Regions from separate parts of the Homo sapiens genome. Here regions 1 and 2 are each linked to region 3. Evidence: promoter capture Hi-C in 16 types of primary human blood cells and fetal thymus (Javierre and others, 2016). All regions are on one chromosome and are shown on one strand. Each heading gives the region's core, a stretch centred on a gene start or on the middle of the fragment in contact. The rest is flanking DNA. Distances are from core to core; before and after follow the strand shown.

Region 1 (3,774 bases), core at 582-3,081, 950 kb before region 3:
TTCTCAGAGCAAGAGCTCGGGTTATTTTGGGGGAAAATTAGGTGTGTGTGAGGGTCTTCTTCAAGGGATTCTAGAGGATTTAGGGGACCTGTGTGAGCAAGTTCAGGGAGGGATATCTCTAGAAAAGTCCCTTAGTAAGGCAGAAGTATTGATTCAAGGGGTTCTGGTGGTGTCAGGAAGGTCTTGGAGGGATTTCAAGAACATACGTCAGGAGGGCTCCAGGGGGTCGCTGGGGTCTCTAAGCTGTGTGTGTGTGTGGGGGGGGGGGGTCCTGAAAACCTGCATATCAGAGGGGTCACCAAGAGAATCTTACGGTCTTACAGGGGTTGTGAGGAGGATCTTCAGAAAATTCCTCTAAAACCGGTCTGCAAGGGGGGATTCTGAGGTGTTAGTGAAGGGGAGTTCTACGGGATCTGAGAGAAAAACCATGAGGAAAGTTTTCAGGATCCTTAAACAATTTTTGGAGCGTGTGATGTGGGGGACTGGAAAAGATGTGGAGTATGTAAAAGGGATTTTGGAAGAAGCTTTTGGAATATGATGCTGAGAGTCCTCTGGAGATTTCAGGCAATTGCTGGAGATTTTTAGAATGAGTGGGGGTGGGGAAGGGGATCCCGGTGAAGATCACTGGGCTACATGAGGGTGATCTCTAGGGCATTTTAGGGTGGTGAGACCAGGGGGAGACAGGAGGCCTCTGGGGGAGACTTTTGGGATCTGTGGAAAGGTCCAGAGGGATACGTGAAGGGGGAGTGTGTATGAGAGATGGTTGCAATACGGTGGGGAGGGGGATGGAGTCTTCTAGGTGAGTTTTTGGGATCTGGGGGCATTTCACAAAGTCTGTGAGGAAGATTTATTTTGGGGATATGGGAAGGAGATCTTCAGGGAAGATGATCACGGTCCGTCGGGGGCATTCTGAAGGACTTCTGGGAGGGGGAATCAGAAATGCAGGGGGTATGAGCGGAAAATCTCCAAGGAGGTTTCTGGAATGGGGTAAGTGGGAGGGAAAATTCTTAGGATCCGGGAGGGGGAAGTCGGGTGAGCCTGTTGGGCTGTGAGAGGCAGGGCTCCGGGGGAGAGTTCTGGAATGGACAGGGGTCCGGAGGGAGCCTTGGGGAGGTGTGCAGGGCTCGTGAGGGAGGCTCCTGGAGCAGCTATGAGAGCCACGCTGTGGAATGGACGAGGAGTGGCCTCCGAGGACTATTTCTGGAGACAGGAGGAGGACGGGGGCTTCGGGGCCAAAGGGCGGGGGTCTGCGAGGAAAGCTGCTGGGACCCATGAAGGGCTCGAGGAGGCGACTCCACGGGAGGGGTGGGTTTTGCGGGGACCTTTCAGGGCGCACACGGGGGATCGGCAGGCTTTCCGGGGCTCTCCGAGGGGGATGTGCGGGGGGTCCTGAGGAGAGGCCCCCGGCCCGGCCCCTCGGCAATCCCGAGGGCATGAGAAAGATTTCGGAGGGAAGCTTCGGCCAGGGCCCAGGAGGGAGACTGGGGACGGGCGCGGGGCTTCTCCCGTGGGGCCCGGCCCCCCGAGGCCCGCGTTCCGCACCCGCCCGCCGCCGCCGCCCGCGGTTCGGGGTCCCTGAGGGGGCGGGGCCGCCCGCGCGGCCTGGGTCGCCCTGAGGGGAGCCCCGCGCGCCCCGACTCGCCGCCGCCCCGCGCCGGCCCGGCCCGAGACTCACCGCCTCGGCCTTCGCCGCCACCGCCGCCGCTCGGGCCTCCTCAGGCCACCGCCGCCGCCGTCGCCCCCTCTCGGGCCCGCAAGCTCCCCTCCCTCCTCCCGCACCGACCACCGCCGCCGCCGCCGCCGCCGCCGTCGCGCTGCGTCACCGCGCCGTGCGTCACCGCCCCTGGCCCCGCCCCGACGGGGGCCGCCGCGCGCCGGCATTAGCTCACGCCCGGGTGACGAACGGCGCGCCAGCCAACGGGCGGCGAGGGCAGCCCGAAGGGCGGGAGGTGTGAGCCGAGTAAGGCGGGGTCGCGGCGAGGGGGGAGCGACGGTGGTGGAACGGGGCCCAAGAGGCCCGCCCCCTCCTCGGCGGGATTGGTCGGACGTGGGGGTGACGGGCAGTCGGCCAGGCCTGGGGTTTGGGGCTGGGGGGCGGGGAAGGGGCGGGGCGCGCGGGGCGTTGCCCAGGGCAACGGGCCCGGCGGAGTCTGAGGTTGGGCCTCCAGGCCCGCAGGGGGCAGGCTCGCGCGCGTCCACCCCAGCTGCCCCGAGCGAAGTCACAGTTCCTGATTCAGGCGTTCCAGGCCTCCTCTTCCCCGCCCCTTGGGTGGCCCGCCTCACCCAAGGCTGTCCTCAGTGGGCGTCTGCACTCGGGCTTCTGGGCGCTCGGCTTTCTCATCGCGCTGTTCTCAGCCTTGCCGCTTGCTCTCTCCGATGGGAATGGCGAGGCGAGATCTAGCCTTTAGGGTGGGAAGAGAATGCACAGAAAGCGCTAAGGATCAAGGAGGCTGTCAATAAACGGGAGTTGTTGCTGTGACTTTGGTTGTGATCTGTGCGTTCCACAAACTGTATTGGGTCCGGGTGAACTAATCAGAGGGACCTGTGTTCAGAAGGCTCTCGGTGACAGAGATCTGGCTTGTTACAGGCACTTAGAGAGGCAGTCGGGATGGAGGGTCGAGTTGAAGACAGGGAGGGGTGAGGAACGAGCAGAGGCCAGTTGTTTGGCCACTTGAGGGAGTTTGGACTTGTCCCGAGGGCACTAGGGAGCCGTGAAGGGCTTCAAGCCGGGGAGGATCATGGTGAGTCTGGGGTTTTGGAGAGATGTCTCTCTGGCTTATACATGGAGGGCGGATTGGAGGGAATGAAACGGGATCGGGAGTCCAGGGAGGCAGCTGGGGGAGGGGGTGGGGAAGAAAGAGGGGGTTTGCACGAGGGAGGGACTGTGGGGAGGGAAGGAGGTGCAGGTGGGAGGGACGCCCTGGAGGCAGAGCGAACGGGCCCTGACACTGGCTGGCTATGGAGTGGAAGGGGGAGAAAAGTTTAGGACCAGGCCCCTCTAGCCGGGAGACTGGGCGCCAGAAGCAGGTTGGGAAGATACTAAGCCCAATGTGGATGCCTAGTAGCGAGGTCCAGGAGGTGCACAAACCCTGGGTCTGGAGCTTAAGGGAGAAATTGAGGCTGGAGACCAAGATTTAAGGATCGTCAAAGATGGTAATTGAGGCTGTGGGAGTTAGGGGTCTAGCCCGGGGAGGGTATGAAGGGTCACTGGAGACAGGGACTGAACAGAACCCTGAAACAGAGAGGCAGGATTTGAGCAAAGGAATTGACGCTGTCGATGAATATTGCAAAAGGCAGCCAGAGAGAGGAAAACCAGGAGAGTGTGGCATTATAGACGCTTTGAGGAAAGGCTGTTTCACCAGGGTGGGGCCATGTCACAAACCCCATCCACTACCTCCTGCATTTAAGCAACAGCCTTCACACTGCATAGAATTATTGTGCTCATTAACTGCTGGTTCATTAATTCATTCAATAATATTTCTTGACTATCTAATATGTGCCAGGCTCTGCTTAAGGTGCTAGAAACACAACAATAGGATGAGCGCGGTGGCTCACACCTGTAATCCCAGCATTTTGGGAGGCCGAGGCAGGTGTTCGAGACCAGCCTGACCAACATGGTGAAATCCCATCTCTACTAAAAATACAAAATTAGCGGGGCGTGGTGGCACATGCCTGTAGTCCCAGCTACTTGGGAGGCTGAGGCAAGAGAATCGCTTGAACCCGGGTGGCGGAGGTTGCAGTGAGCCAAGATCGTGCCATTGCACTCCAGCCTGG
Region 2 (3,843 bases), core at 752-3,251, 550 kb before region 3:
AAACTGGCCCCAAAACTGGCCATAAACAAAATCTCTGCAGCACTGTGACATGTTCATGATGGCCATGACCCCCACCCTGAAGGTCGTGGGTTTACTGGAATGAGGGCAAGGAACACCTGGCTCACCCAGGATGGAAAACGGCTTAAAGGGGTTCCTGTACCACAAACAATAGCATGAGCGATCTGTGCCTTAAGGACATGTTCCTGCTGCAGATAACTAGCCAGAGCCCATCCGTTTATTTTGGCACATCCCTTTATTTCCCATAAGAAATGCTTTTAGTTAATCTATAATCTATAGAAATAATGCTTATCACTGGCTTGCTGTCAATAAATATGTGTGTAAATCTCTGTTCGAGGCTCTCAGCTCTGAAGGCTGTGAGACCCCTGATTTCCCACTCCACACCCTGTATTTCTGGGTGTGTGTCTTTAATTCCTCTAGCGCCACTGGGTTAGGGTCTCCACGACCCAGCTGGTCTCGGCACTCTGGGATCCTGCCACGGGGCTGTGTAACCAGCCATCTCTGTGCAACATGCCCAGCACTGCCTGTCAGCATCTCCTGTTCAGGTCAGGCTAGCACCTCTCTCATCAGAATTCCAGAATTCCATCAGAGGCCAAGTCCCCCACCCCCACCTCCTGCCCTTGCTTTGGGGGCAACTTCCTGCAAGGTAACACTTCCTTTTCTCCACACTCCTGTATACAGACTCCTGGAGCAGAGTGTGCCATGAGGAAAAGCTCTCCCATCCCCCCATCTCCCTCCACTTCTCTATTTCTCAGCTAGGCATGGCCAACAAACTAGCTCAATAAAACTGGTGCCAAATATGAGGGGATGGGCAATTTTTATCTGTAATCAGTGCACTTATCTGCCACCAGCTCTGATCCTAAAAGACCTTGTGGCCTCATGTTTACAATCAGGAGACCCTCAGGAGGCTGTGTGTTGAGCGTCAAGAGGAACTCGGAGACAGCTATGATGCTCCAAACAGCTCTCAAGCATGCACCCTTATCAGCGCCATTTGGTCCAGGCTCAGAGTGTAAACAACCTGCCCAAGGTCACCCAGCCAGTAAGTAGGGGAGGCAGGGCTTGGAGCAGTGCTGGGCTCCAGAGCCCAATGATATAAACACAGTTCCAACATTGTTTTTTCTTTTTTCTTTTTTTGAGACAGAGTCTCACTCTGTCACCCAGGCTGCAGTGCAGTGGTGCTGATCTCAGCTCACTGCAACCTCCACCTCCCAGGTTCAAGCAAGTCTCCTGCCTCAGCCTCCTGAGTAGCTGAGATTATAGGCACATGCCACCATGCCCGGGTAATTTTTGTATTTTTAGTAGAGACAGGGTTTCACCATGTTGGCCAGGCTGGTCTCAAACTCCTGACCTCAAGTGGTCGGCCCACCTCGGCCTCCCAAAGTGTTGAGATTACAGGCATGAGCCACTGCACCTGGCCCCACTTCTTAAATCTTACATGGCCAAAAACATGATCAGGTGCAGTCAGCATTATCATCAGTGCCATTTTCCAAGGGAGGAAACCGAGGCCCATAGGGGGAACCAACATAGCCAGGTCTCATAGCAATTATGACGGGGAGCAGAATTTGAGCTCAGGTGAACCCAGTAATAATTTTATATTATTATATAATATAATAGTGGCTCACACCTATAATCCAGCATTTTAGGAGGCCAAGGTGGAAGGATCTCTTGAGGCCAAGAGTTCGAGACCAGCCTGGACAACAAAGCCAGATTCCCACTCTAAAAAAATGGAAAAGTTAGCCAGGTGTGGTGGCACACACCTGTGGTCCTGACTACTCAGGAGGCTGAGGCGGGAGGATCTATTGAGCTCAGGAGGTCAAGGCTGAAGTAAGCTTTGATCATAGAACCGCACTCCAGCCTGGACAACACAGTGAGACTCTGTCTCTCTCTCTACACAAACACACACAAACACACACACACACACACACACACACACACACGTATAAAATAAAAGAACAGCTCCCGGGTGTGGAGCAGCACACCCCATTGAATCCTTTCCACACCCCTTCCACATCAACATTACAATTACTGCCATTTTCCAGCTGTCCATGCTTGAGGGCAGAGTTTATGTGCCCAGAACCCATGGCCTGCAGGAAGAAGACCTGGGCCTCTGTGCCACCTACCTGACTCCTAAGCTTAAAATACAGTAGCCCTCTGCCAGGCGTGGTGGCTCACGCCTGTAATCCCAGCACTTTGGGAGGCCAAGGTGGGCAGATCACCCGAGCTCAGGAGTTTGAGACCAGCCTGGCCAACATGGTGAAACGCTGTCTCTACTAAAAATACAAAAATTAGCCAGGCCTGGTGGTGTGTGCCTACAATCCCAGCTACTCGGGAGGCTGAGGCAGGAGAATCATATGAACCCGGGGGGCAGAGGTTGCAGTGAGCTGAGATCAGGCCACTGCACTCCAGCCTGGGCAACAGAGTGAGACTTTGTCTAAAAAAAAAAAAAAGAGCCCTCCGTGCGTGTTATGCACATAGAGCATCGAATTTAATCTTCACCAAACCAAACAAAGGAGATACCACCAATGGAGCTATTTTCTGGAGGAAACTGAAGCTCAGAGATGTCCACTGCCACAGCCACACAGAGGGCAAATACTCCACAAGGGGATTTACATCACAAGCGCCAGGGTCTGTTTATTAAAACCCCTTCCCAGCAGAGGGCAGTACAGTGTCTTGTCCCAGCAGAAAAGGTCCTTCAGGCCACCCCTCTAAACACAGGAGCCAAGGGTGTTGACAGAGGGGCACCCTTTGCACCCCCAGGACTCCTATGGCTTAATAGTGGTCCTGATGGAAGAGGCGGAGCCAGGACTTGAATCCATGAGTGGCTGCCTCTAGAGGCGCAAAGGCCAGCATCGGAGGACCCTGTGGCAGCCAGGAGCGGAAGGTTCATGTTCTGCAGGGGCGCCCAGCCCACTGTGCCCCCAGCCGTCACTTCTTCTGCACGTGGCCACAGTCGTACTTGCCACGCACAACGGTGAGCTTGACGCCTGGCAGGTCCTGGGTGCGGCCGCCCTCCACAAGGACAATCTGGTGCTCCTGCAGGGTGTGGCCCTCCCCAGGGATGAAGCAGACGGCCTCGCGGCCAGTGCTGAGCCGCACTCGACAGCACTTGCGATTGGCTGAGTTGGGCTTCTTCGGCTTGCGGGTAAACGTGCACAGGACCACACCCTTCAGCTGCGGCCGGCCTTCCGTGGGGCCCAGCTTCCGAGGCGGCCGCTTGGGGGGCCCCAGGCGGTGCATCTGGTTCAGGGTAGCCATGGAGCAGGTAGCCCAGAGCCGGGGAACCAGAGCTGGGCCTGGAGAGGGCCGAAAGGGGTTATTATCCCAGAGAACAGATCTTAGAGTAGTAGCAACTCAATTTTGGTGTTTTAGGCATTGTTTAAAGCACTTTACAAAGATGCATTTGTTCACATCTAATGTTATCTACAGACAAAAGTAACTCTTTATTCTTCAAGGAAGCATTACCTTTTTTTTTTTTTTCTTTTTTTTTTTTGAGACAAAGTCTCACTCTGTCGCCCAGGCTGGAGTGCAGTACCTCAATCTTGGCCCACTGCAACCTCTGCCTCCTGGGTTCAAGCAATTCTCCTGTCTCAGCCTCCTGAGCAGCTGGGACTACAGGCACCCACCACCACGCTCGGCTAATCTTCGTATTTTTAAGTAGAGACGGGGTTTCACCATGTTGGTCAGGCTGGTCTCGAACTCCTGACCTCGGCCTCTCAAAGTGCTGGGATTACAGGCGTGAGCCACCACGGCTGGCCAGGAAGCATTATTTTTAATGCTGTTTAAAATAATAGTAGGCTCAGTGGCTCATGCATGTAATCCTAGCAC
Region 3 (3,953 bases), core at 123-2,622:
CCCTTCACTGCCATCCAGCACAGGGACCCTGGCGTCCCAACCTTAGGGACCCGGACGAGCTCTAGCCCCCTCCCCCACCTGCAGGCTGCTGGGTTTCCCGGGCCCTTCAGGAGGGGAAGGGGCGGCTGCAGCGCCCCCAGCCCCCTTTTCTCAATGGGATGGGATTTTGTGAATGAGCAGTCACGTGACGCTGCTTCCTTTGTCCGCCCGCCTCCCCCGACAACAGGTGAAGCAGGGAATGAGAGCAGGGGTCCCCCCAGGGCCTAGCTGGAATGGGGCACTGGCATTTCAGGGTGGCCTACGCTCCCCACACATCCTGTGTCCCCCGGGGGGAGTGGTCCTCAGCGTTCCTCAACGGTGAGGGTCCAGGACGGAATTTTGTGAATGGGGCATCCTCGGAGAAAGTCCAGACCCCACAAATGAAGACTGGTACCCTGAATGGCTGCCGCGCAGTTTGGGGGGTCCCCACTCTCTAGTCCTCCTAGCCGGGGCCTTGGGGGCGCCTGGGTGGGCAGAAGGCGCAGCGCGGTCACGGCCGCCCCCTCATCGGGGCAGGCAGTCTGTCAGCCCCCGCCCCCTCGCCCCCCTCGGCACCTGCCTGCGAGGCTCCGGCCGGGCTCCGAGCGGCGGCGACGCGGCCTCCTCCTCCTCCTTTTCGTTCCGGCTCCCTGGCTGGCTCCGGCGGCGCTGGAGACGGGCACCGGGAGCCGGGGCGAGGGGGGAGGGAGGGGGAACCTGGAAGACGGGTGGGGGGGGAAGGGGCGGCTTGGGGGAGGGGTAAGAGCGAGGCGGGCTTACTTGCCTGCTGGGTCCTAGAGCCCGGCACTAGCTCCAGAGAGCAACCCCCCAGCCCCCATTTTCTTAAGATCCAGAGGGGATCCCCCACTTTTCCACCCATCTGCGCCATTGGTCTCTAATGCTATGAGGAGGGGACGGGGCAGGGACAGGGACTGGTCTCAAGGTTCTAAAGAGGTGGTGGTCTACGCTGTGGCTTGGGTGCCTGGCAGAGTTCGATAAGGGGTGGGGCGAGAGGGGAGCCTTCACAAGTGGGTGGGGTTGGAGGGCCTGGGTATAAGGAGGTTTGGATGCTGCAGGCGAGGACTAGTGCGTGCGTCACGAAGGGGCGGGCCCACGGTGGATGGGCCTTCTCGGCGCCCGGGGGGAAGGAGAGGGTCTTGAGAAGCGATGTTGCCGGGTCTTAAAAAGGCGGAGCTTAGAGGTAAATTGCCTTAGGGGCGGGGCAGATGAGAGGTCCAAAGGGGAGGAGCGACGCATCGGTGTTCGCGTGGGCGGGGCCTCGGGAGGGAATGAGAGGGGCGGGACATTCTAAAGGGGAGGGGCTAAGGAGAACAACCCAAAGGGGTGGAGCTTAGAACCAGAAGGCCTGGGGGCGAGGAACAAGACCTCGGAGTATTTCAAGGGGAGACCTAGGTTCGTAAGGGGCCGGGCTCCCGCGGGCTCGCAGGAGGGCGGGGCCTCGAGCTCCGGGGGCGGGGCCTACATCTCGGGGTCCGCCCTAGTTGTCTCGCCCACTTGCCTTCACCCGCACCCCCGTTCTTTTCGGTTATTTTCTGCTACGGCAGTTCCCTGCCCTGCCCCGGGCCCAGGGCGCCGCGGTCTGAACTCTGCTCGGCTGGAGGACTCGGTGAGTGGGTTCCTCTGGGGGGAGGCGGGGCCAGGGCGGAGCTTGGGGACAGGGGTGGAGCTTGACTGTGGATGCCAGCTAGTAGACCTGGAGCGGGAAGAGGTTTAGGGGTGAGGCCTGAGGATCTGCCCCTGCCTGGGAAGAGGGCGGGACCCAGGTGCTCTAGAGAGAGGCGGGGAGTCGGAGAGTTAGAGGAGAGGACTGAGGGATCAGCATGACCAGCCAAGGGGACAGGCATGGAACCTTAGTACATAATGGGGCTGGTAGTGAAGTATCTTAACAGCAGCTGTGTTGGGGACATGGGCAAGAAGGCGTGAGTGTCGAAGGTCGGGGAACAGGAGTGCGACCTAAGGACTTGGGCCTGATCGGATCTTGGAGAACAGGGGCGGGGCCGGTGCGGACGCATTAGATCAAGTACAGCCAGCCTCGTAGGGTCCCCACGGCCCTGGCAGGCTGACTGGAGTAAATTTTTCTGACTAGTCTCCGAGCTCCGTCAGAAATGGGGAACTTGCAGTCGGAGCCATCCGCGGGCGGGGGCTCCCGAAAAGTGCAGCCCTCGGACCGCGCCCCCGACTCCCGCCGGACGTCCCTGGTGGAGCCCGAGATGACCTCCCAGGCCATGCGCCTGACTCGTGGGCTGGGTGTCTGGTTCCCTGGCAGCGCCACACCCCCGGGACTCATGGTACCCCGGGAGCCCCAGGCCTCACCCTCGACCCTGCCCCTCACCTTAGAACGGCCCTCTCCAGTGATGCCCCCTCCTGAAGAGGCGGCCGCGGTCTCTGCACCACCCCCGGCCCCCGCGGGGACTCTGCTGCCCGGCCCGTCTAAATGGCAAAAGCCCGCGGGCACTCCAGTTCCCCGGATCCGCCGCCTGCTGGAGGCGAGCCATCGCGGCCAGGGCGACCCTCCGAGCCTCCGCCCGCTGAAGCCGCCGCCGCCGCCCCGGCAACTATCCGTGAAGGACACTGTCCCGAGGGCCCCATCCCAATTTCCGCCGCCCCTGGAGACTTGGAAGCCGCCACCACCATTACCTTCTGAACGGCAGCCGGCGGACCGCAGAATCACTCCTGCTCTGGCCACACCCGCCTCACCCCCGACAGAAAGCCAGGCTGGGCCCCGCAACCAGGGCCAGACGGCCGGCAGGGCTCGCGGAGGGGCGCCTCCCCATGCGGGCGAAGGCGAAATGGCCCAGCCTGCGGATTCCGAGTCCGGTCTGAGCCTGCTGTGTAAAATCACCTTCAAGTCGAGGCCCTCTTTGGCCCCTCCGGCAGCCTCGAGTTCCTTAGCAGCCAAAGCTTCGCTGGGGGGCGGCGGAGGCGGCGGCCTCTTTGCTGCCTCAGGTGCCATCTCTTACGCCGAGGTCCTGAAGCAAGGGCCCCTGCCTCCTGGAGCCGCTCGCCCCTTGGGAGAGGTTTCTCGAGGGGCACAGGAAGCCGAGGGAGGTGATGGAGACGGCGAAGGGTGCTCTGGTCCTCCCTCGGCGCCTGCGTCCCAAGCCCGGGCCCTACCGCCGCCACCCTACACCACCTTCCCAGGCTCGAAGCCCAAATTCGACTGGGTTAGCGCTCCCGACGGCCCTGAACGCCACTTCCGCTTCAACGGGGCTGGCGGAGGCATCGGGGCGCCGCGACGGCGTGCGGCCGCACTCTCTGGGCCTTGGGGCTCCCCTCCGCCACCACCAGAGCAGATACACTCAGCTCCCGGGCCCCGGAGGCCCGCACCTGCCCTGCTGGCGCCGCCTACGTTCATCTTCCCAGCACCCACCAATGGCGAGCCCATGCGCCCGGGGCCTCCAGGCCTGCAGGAGTTACCACCGCTGCCACCGCCCACACCGCCGCCCACACTGCAGCCACCAGCGCTCCAGCCAACGCCGCTGCCGGTGGCTCCCCCGCTCACCCCGGGTCTGGGCCACAAGGAGTCAGCCCTGGCTCCCACCGCAGCCCCTGCTCTGCCCCCAGCCTTAGCCGCCGACCAGGCCCCGGCCCCATCCCCGGCTCCAGCTCCCACCGTGGCTGAGCCCTCGCCGCCTGTGTCCGCGCCCGCACCCGCGGCTGCGCCCATCAAGACCCGCACGCGCAGGAACAAGGGTTCCCGTGCAGCCCGGGGCGCGACCCGTAAGGATGGCTTGCATGGAGATGGTCCTCGCGAACGAGCTACAGCTACCGTGCCTGACAGCAGTGGTGGAGGGGGTGGTGGCAGCGGGGCCTCTCAGACTGGGGCAGCTAACACCCGCGCTGCGCGCCACTGGCTGCCCTTCCAGGTGCTTAACTCCTGTCCCTGCAAGTGTTACTGCCACCACCAGCCACGC

Evidence for each region. Contacts are between HindIII fragments. The CHiCAGO score rates a contact against its expected background, and 5 or more counts as called.
Region 1: the fragment with the promoter of SAMD4B here is called in contact with the fragment with the promoter of GGN in region 3 in 1 of 17 cell types (naive CD8 T cells); the score reaches 5.2 in naive CD8 T cells.
Region 2: a fragment that was not itself captured here is called in contact with the fragment with the promoter of GGN in region 3 in 16 of 17 cell types (naive CD8 T cells, total CD8 T cells, non-activated CD4 T cells and 13 more); the score reaches 19.3 in naive CD8 T cells.

Annotation. Positions count from the first base shown.
Region 1 is chr19:39,340,478-39,344,251 of GRCh38, reverse strand. It overlaps SAMD4B (sterile alpha motif domain containing 4B), which reads right to left and starts at 1,831. Exons shown (of 14, transcript NM_001384574.2): 1 at 1,676-1,831. RefSeq lists a silencer at 1,713-2,142. The HindIII fragment of the contact is 6,593 bases long and covers 1,459-3,774 here.
Region 2 is chr19:38,931,801-38,935,643 of GRCh38, reverse strand. MRPS12 (mitochondrial ribosomal protein S12) reads right to left here. Exons shown (of 3, transcript NM_033362.4): 3 at 2,476-3,311. The coding sequence ends at 2,944. It overlaps LOC124904713 (a long non-coding RNA gene), which reads left to right. Exons shown (of 2, transcript XR_007067253.1): 2 at 1-821. Among named protein-coding and RNA genes, the nearest start is that of MRPS12, 2.8 kb to the right of the region's middle. The HindIII fragment of the contact is 303 bases long and covers 1,850-2,152 here.
Region 3 is chr19:38,385,453-38,389,405 of GRCh38, reverse strand. GGN (gametogenetin) reads left to right here and starts at 1,372. Exons shown (of 4, transcript NM_152657.4): 1 at 1,372-1,431; 2 at 1,584-1,645; 3 at 2,126-3,953. The coding sequence starts at 2,145. SPRED3 (sprouty related EVH1 domain containing 3) reads right to left here and starts at 709. Exons shown (of 6, transcript NM_001394336.1): 1 at 599-709. RefSeq lists a silencer at 1,337-1,576. The HindIII fragment of the contact is 15,577 bases long and covers 1-2,942 here.